Linked DNA regions of Homo sapiens: region 2 is linked to region 1. Evidence: promoter capture Hi-C in human tissues and cell types (Jung and others, 2019). All regions are on one chromosome and are shown on one strand. The core of a region is centred on a gene start or on the middle of the fragment in contact, and the rest is flanking DNA. Distances in the headings are between cores, read along the strand shown.

Region 1 (3,676 bases), core at 325-2,824:
ACCATATAGCTTTAGATGTTTGGAATTTGGTTAGTATGATCTGATCCCTGGAAGACAGATCACAATTTAAAAGCACTAACAGAATTGAGTTTCTGGACCATGGTGATAACACCAAGGTGGTGGGTGTGCCTAGGTGCTGAATGGACAAAATAAGGCCATCCCTGTGAGACAACCCCTAAGCAGCTAGCTAGTCAGCCTCCTCTCATAGGACAACGTTAAGTCTAAACCAGTGATTTCCAAATACAGGAACTGGACACATCAAAACGATGCAGGGAACTTTAAAAATAAAACACAGATTTTAATTCCTACCCTTGCAAATTCTGATTTGGTACTTGTTGAGGAGCTTGAGAATCTCTTCAAAGTTCCCTAAGGGATTCTCAAGTCCAACCAGGCTGCAGAATCACTGCTTTATATCCTGACAAGGCAACTTATAATCAAAGGTCCCCACTGGGTTCTTTTTTAGGATAGTGTATAACAGGATTTGCTACTAAACAGTAAGAAAAAGAAGAAACTGAAGCATTAATCACTATTGTGATGAACCACTTACTTGAAAGTGTTTAAAGATTAATTCAGGATTGAAGTACAACTGAAAAGGTGTGATCAATTCCAACTGCTGAAATAGAAAAAGAGCTTCTTAAAGCAAATCAAGAAACAAAATTTCATCATTTACAACAAAGAATTAGTAGGTCTAGCAATTTCCAACTCTCGGTCACTTAGACGTGATTTCCTTTAAGCCTTTCTTCTTAGGCCAGAGGAAGAGGTTGGTAAAGAATTCTCTAGGATTGGTAGAATTCTTTGTATCCTCAATACCTAACACAAAAAAGTCTGTTTTATGTTGCAATAGTTGAGGCTGACATGAAGAAATGAGGCAGACAGGTGGTGATATTTTAGACACAGGACAAATAAAAACAGCTGCTATGAATCTACCCACCACATGGGCACCACCTGAAACAGCTGTATGAAACAACAAAACTCACTTGAAATAACGGAGACTGGAGACCCTGCCACCGTTAGGGCTGGGTACCTCCAGCTAGCCCCTTATTTAGATCCAGAGACCCTTTTTATTATAAGCCATTCCCCTCTCGACAGTTTCCAGCTTGCTTTCCCCATTCCTGTTTCTTCACTAAACGGACCTTCCTCTCACTAGTCACCATGGTACCACCTGGCCATTGGCAGAGCTCTCGGACACATTTCTTGGGTGGGAGGCTCCCGCAACCCTAACCCGCTATAGGTCCGGCGCTCATCTCTTAGAAACTGACCTGACCCCCCATGAAGCAGCACTCCCTTCTCGCGTCACTGGATAAGCATTCTTGGCGCCAACTCGAACCCCAGAGTAATCCCTGTACGCCTCCACCCATCCCCGGGACCAGCCCCTCTGGGCCTCCCCGAGGCCCAAACCCCAGTTTCCTGAAGACCCAGTCATATCCAGCCCAGATAATGAGAAGGTGGCACTGCAGCTGCTCACCACGGCGGCGGTGGTGAGGACGCAGGCAGTGGTGTAGGCGCGGCTGACCGGTGGGATCTGCAGGTACTCCAGCCGCAAGCTCTGGTACGCCATCTTCCCCACCGTCGCCTGCCCCACCCCCCACCCACCCCATTTCCCCTTCCGCCAGCAGGCCCCGGCGGCGGGGCGGGCCCAAAGGCCCCCCGCCCACTTTAGTTTTCCCGCGACTGCCCAATCAACGCCAAGCAACCGCAATCCGTAGAGACCTAAGGAACGCACATCCGCCAATCACGAGTTGCGTCGCCACCGCCCCCCCCCAGCGCCCCATCTCCCCACCCTCTCTTCTCCACCAGCCAACGTCCGGGAAAAACGAGTAAGTACAGGTTCCTTCTGCCAATCCCCGCCGGCCACAGCTAACTTTCCCGCCCGGCCCCTTTCTGTCATAATTGAGGTGTCCACAACCAGCCAATCAGGAACGCGAGAGTATCCCGCGTTTGCTTTCGCTCGCCGAGGCGCGTATCAGTCGGAATTTTGGGGAGCCAACCGCGCCGTCTGTCCCTGGCAAGCCAGCGGCGGTTTAAAGGAGGTGGCGGGAAGCCTGTGTGTGCTTCAAATCGTCACCCTCATGGTCGCTCCGGTAAGTGCTGCGGGGCAGCATTTTCTCTGAGGAGGAGCGGGGACGGGCGAGACTGGCATAAGCGTCTTCGCGAGGGAGCAAGGCGGCCTGTGGGTCGGCCTCACCCCGGCCTCCGACCTGAAGATCCCAGCATGCAGCGCGGGCGCGGGGCCCGACGGAAGCCGGGAGCCGGCCGGAAGCAGTTCCTGCGCTCTGGCTTCTGGGTCCTGTCCTGCGCGATCGCGGGGTCTTAGACAGCTCAACTCGCCGAGATGACCTGGGCACCTCTGCGTTGAATCGGCAAATACTGATCAAGCCGCATTTATTCTGCTCTCAGGAACTCTAAGTCTAGCAGAGAAGATGAGGCGGTAGAAGTTCATCAGTCAGTGCCCGAAGAGAGGTCCTAATGGGAATTCGAAGAAAGGAGTTAATCAAGGAAGTGTATTTTTTTGTTGTTGTTTGAGATGGCGCCCACCTGTAATCCCAGCTACTTGGGAGGCTGAGCTAAGAGGATCACTTGAACTTAGGAGGCAGAGGTTGTAGCGAGCCGAGATCATACCACTGTACTCCAGCCTGGGCGAAAGAGTGACACTTTGTCTCAAACAACAACAACAACAAGAAAATTAGCCAGGCATGGTGGCCTGCACCTGTTGTCCCGGCTACTTGGGAGACTGAGGTGGGAGGATTGCTTGGGCGCGGGAGGTTGAGGCTGCAGTGATCTGTGATCGTGCCACTGCATTCCAGCCTGGGCGACAGAGCGACAACATGTCTCAAAAGAAAAAAAGAAAAACAGAAAGAAATCCTACCTTACATATACAGCCAAACAGTTATAACCACTCCATATTTAACCATTACAAACGTAAATTTTTATTTTATTTTATTTTTTGAGACAGAGTCTCGCTCTGTTGCCCAGGCTGGGGTGCAGTGGCACAATCTCGGCTCACCGCAACCTTCGCCTCTCGGGTTCCAGTGATTCTCCTGCCTCAGCCTCCCGAGTAGCTGGGATTGCAAGTATCCACCATCACGCCTGGGTAATTTTTGTATTTCTAGGAGAGATAGGGTTTCGCCATGTTGGCCAGGCTGGTCTCGAACTCCTGACCTCAGGTGATTCGTCCATCCGGCCTCCTAAAGTGCTGAGATTACAGGCATGAGCTATCGTGCTCAGCCTACAAACATAAATTCTTAAGATTGGCTGCATCTTATCTTCCCATAAGATTTGACTGTACTGCTTATTGCAAATTATTTCATAAAGTGCGTCCTAAATTCACCTGATAATTGAAGTAGCAGTTTGTTTTAGCTAATTGCCTTTATCTGAAGGAATAATAAAATTTCTCTTATTTCTATGACAAGCAATATCATTTCATCTCAGAAAAAGATGCCTAGGTTGAATTCCCACAATGACAAGGAGATAGGGGTTTTATTTTCCTAGATGTTTATATTTGAGAGGAATTACTCGCAGACCCTTGAAAAAACATGTCAGGGTTATAAAGCTGACAAGGGACTTACTCATCTTCTAATTGGGTTTTTTTCAGATGGCTTGGCTGGAGGACAAGCAAATTGAGGACATTGGCAACGGAGTGATCAAAATGATAGATCATGAGGCCTAAAATGAATAA
Region 2 (3,676 bases), core at 1-2,500, 1.6 Mb after region 1:
GGCCCCCGCCTCGTTCGCTACCCCAGATCCCAACAAGCTCCTGTCACCTCCTTCACCCTGAATGACCCGGGCATCCCACTTCCCTCACCAGCGAGGAGGCCCAGGCCGAGGTAGAGATGCAGCAGATCGCTGGCGAAAGCCGAGAAGACGAAGCCCAGCGAGGCGAGGACGCCCCCAACCATCACCACGGGGCGGGCCCCCCAGCGCGTGCTCAGGGCGCTGCCCACGGGGCCTGAAAGGGGGCGGAGTCAACGGAAGACACGCCCCCGGGCCCCCAAACTCTCTCCAACACTTCTCATTGGCTGTTTGCCTCCCTCGAACTAATGGTTCTTCTCCTTGACCTCAAGATGCACTCTTTTCTAGAGCCGGTTGCCCTTTCTCAGGTTGTCGGGTAATCAGGTGGGTCTCCCATCCCTCCACTCACGGCTCCTCCTCCCCGTTCCTGTCTCCCGCCTCAGGGCCCCCCTCACTGGCTGCCTGCTGCACGGCCAGGGCCAGGGCGCTGATCCACGCAGTGTCCTGGGCGCTTCGGTCAAAGTGCTCGGCAAGGTCAGGGAAGGCAAGGCCCAGCGAGCGCAGCAGCCCGTAGGACAGCCCGTTTATCGCGAAGGCTGCGGCCGCCACCACCCAGCCCCAGCCCCCATCCGGGGGTCCGGCGGGCTGGGGGGTCATCGCCGTCTGCGGGGTGGGGAAACATCTGTGAGAGAAGCCTCCACGCCTGTGCTTCCGCTGGGGAGCTGGCATCCCTGAGATCCAGCCTCTGGCTGCTCGCCCGGGGTGGGCCCGTCACTCCGAGCGCGATGGCGCGGGGCGGAGGGAGCCGGAGCCTGGCCTAGGGCTGGAACTCCCGGGTCCGCGCGAGGTACGGGGACGGGGACAGCCAGATCCCCAGGCCCGAGGTTCCCCGTCCCACGCACACTCCTTCCCCCTTACCCGACCTCTCCGGGCGGTGCGGGGAGGGGAAGGGTGAGGAAGGGCTGGGCCCGGCTTTCTCTCTGCTTCCCAGGCGGGCGGGGGCCCCGAAGGGGAGCGAGGGCAGCGATGGAGCCCAACTTGGACGGGCTCTCTCGGTAAACAGAGATCACCACAGGGGCCTGAGCCACCTGGGACGCGGGGTGTACGGAGGGCGGGGGCGAGCTGAAACAGCCAATCCGGCAAGCCGCGCGTGAGGCCAGACGCCAGTCCCACGGGGATTGAATTATGTACACACACAACCCCCAGGCCCGGGGGAGGGGGGAGCGGCGAGAAATGAATGCAGAGGGGCCCTGCCCTACTCACACGCATGCACCTGCCGCCTGCTGCGCGCAGGGGAGACACGTGGATTGCAAACCCCAGCGAGCCCAGGGTCCACCGCCAACGCGTGGAAATAGGGATGGTCCCCAAAACCTGAGGGGATGAGTAGTTTTGTTCTCAGGAACGTTGCCGAGGACCAGGTAAATCTCGGATATCAATCAGATCACAGACCTCCACCAAGTGCCAGCTCTGTGCTTAGAATAACAGACCCCCAGGCCGGGCGCGGTGCAAGCCTGTAATCCCAGCACTTTGGGAGGCCGATGTGGGTGAATCACCTGACGTCAGGAGTTCGAGGCCAGCCTGACCAACATGGCGAAACACCATATCTACTAAAAATACAAAAAAAATTAGCCGGGTGTGGTGGCGGGCGCCTGTAGTCCCAGCTACTTGGGAGGCTGAGGCGGGGAATCGCTTGAACCCGGGAGGCAGAAGTTGCAGTGAGCCAAGATCATGCCACTGCACTCCAGCCTGGGTGACAGAGAAAGACTCTGTCTCAAAAATAAATAAATAAACAAAAATAAAATAAATAAAATAAAATAACAGGTCCTCAAGGACAGAGGGATGAAACACGACTCCCTCAATGTGAAGACCTGCAGTGTACCAGGCACCGTTTACACATGCTATCACTTCATCTTATGATAACCCTATGAAGAAGGTGTCGCTTTTCTTTTTTTTTTTTTTTAGATGGAGTTTCACTCTGTAGCCCAGGCTGGAGTACAGTGGCGAGATCTCGGCTCATTGCAACCTCTGCCTCCTAAGTTCAAGCCATTCTCCTGCCTCAGCCTCCTGAGTAGCTGGGATTACGGGCGCCTGCCACCACTCCCAGCTAATTTTTGTATTTTTTAGTAGAGATGGGGTTTCGCCATGTTGGCCAGGCTGGTCTGGAACTCCTGACCTCAGATGATCCGCCCACCTCGGCCTCCCAAAGTGCTGGGATTACAGGAGTGAGCCAACGCGCCTGGCCGATGTCGTGCCTCTTTTATAGATGCAGTAACTGAAGCTCTCAGGGAAAAAATGGTATGGATATTTGAATTTAGGTCTGTCCAACTGTGGACCTACAAGGAGAACAATCCCAGGACTGAAACAAAATCTGGCACAGTTAAGGGAAAGATCCTGGATACAGCTTGAAGCAAACTGCCCTGGAAAGGGTGGAACCATTGCAGGGACAGAAAACTTATGAGTCTAAAATAAGGGGTCACTGGGAATAGAAAGGATTCTTGAGATCAGAATCTCTAAACACTTAGGTTAGAATTTTATTTTTTATTATGTATGTATGTATGTATGTATGTATGTATGTATGTATGTATGTGTGTGTGTATTTATTTATAGAGACAGGGTCTTGTCCAGGCTGAAGTGTAGTACTGCCATTATGGCTCACTGCAGCCTCCACCTCCCAGGCTCAAGCAATACTCCACCTCAGCCTCCCGAGTAGCGAGGACTACAGGCTCCACACCACCATGCCTGGCTAAATTTGTTCATTTTTTTTGTAGAGAGGGGGTCACAGCATGTTGCACAGGCTGGTCTCAAGCTCCTGGACTTAAGCAATCCTTCCACCTCGGACTCCCAAAGTGCTGGGATTACAGTCTACCATGCCTGGCCAGGTTACAATTTTAAAAGCAAAGTAAAAAATCAGGTCATTGAAGCCAGGTATTGATTTTTTGAAAAACTTTATAGAAAATGTCCTTTTTTGATAGGTTGACATTCTTTACCTCAGCTCTTTGAATTCAGAGATGTGTTCTTTGGTTTAATTATTAAACAATATGATAGAACATTCAGCAACTTAAGTTTGGAGCATGCATCCATTGAGCCACATGATGGCAGTGTTTCCTAATTATTGGGAAAGAATCTGCACGTAAAGACAAGAAAAACAGCTTCTTAAGGAGCAAAACTGTAAACATAAAAGACACAGCATGACTATAGGCAATGGCTCTCCATTGCCTATAGACGGGAAAAATTACATTTCTCTATTTGTACAGGTCTTTTACAATAATCAAAGGTAGACCTAGGTTACCGTTCCAAACCATCTCCCCTCTCTCCCTTTTGCCAGCCTCCCATCAGCCACTGTCTTCTCTGCTCTGTGGACATGCCTAGCTTTTTCTCACTCCTTAATTTTTGCATATGTCATGCTCTCTGCTTGAAACGTCCTGTTGTTCATGAAGGTCCTGACAGACACACCTTAGGAAAGTGGCCCCACCGGTTTCCCCAGCCTGGAGTGCTGTTATGAAAGCCACCAGGGAGGCGGAGCCAGCAGGTCCTCAGCTACCGGGGAGGGCAGGGATCCCGCTTCCTGAGAAGGCTGCTGAAGACTCTGCTCCAAGCTAAACGAATCACTGTCTCCCCATGGTGACGCAGAAATGCAGGACAGTCAGAGCGAAGACCGGGC

Evidence for each region. Contacts are between HindIII fragments. The study calls those that stand out against the background at their distance.
Region 2: a contact is called between the fragment with the promoter of SLC16A11 here and the fragment with the promoter of DERL2 in region 1, in 1 of the 25 tissues and cell types used here (small bowel).

The regions. Positions count from the first base shown.
Region 1 is chr17:5,484,604-5,488,279 of GRCh38, forward strand. It overlaps DERL2 (derlin 2), which reads right to left and starts at 1,575. Exons shown (of 7, transcript NM_016041.5): 1 at 1,466-1,575; 2 at 548-613. The coding sequence starts at 1,558. MIS12 (MIS12 kinetochore complex component) reads left to right here and starts at 1,963. Exons shown (of 3, transcript NM_001258217.2): 1 at 1,963-2,081; 2 at 3,593-3,676. RefSeq lists enhancers at 1,233-1,412, 1,453-1,512, 2,133-2,232, 2,473-2,582 and silencers at 1,683-1,842, 1,792-1,959. The HindIII fragment of the contact is 19,817 bases long and covers 1-3,676 here.
Region 2 is chr17:7,042,842-7,046,517 of GRCh38, forward strand. SLC16A11 (solute carrier family 16 member 11) reads right to left here and starts at 1,251. Exons shown (of 5, transcript NM_001370549.1): 1 at 934-1,251; 2 at 471-678; 3 at 89-232. The coding sequence starts at 672. LOC124903909 (a long non-coding RNA gene) reads left to right here and starts at 226. Exons shown (of 2, transcript XR_007065598.1): 1 at 226-399; 2 at 3,341-3,676. RefSeq lists silencers at 598-657, 728-857. The HindIII fragment of the contact is 14,065 bases long and covers 1-3,676 here.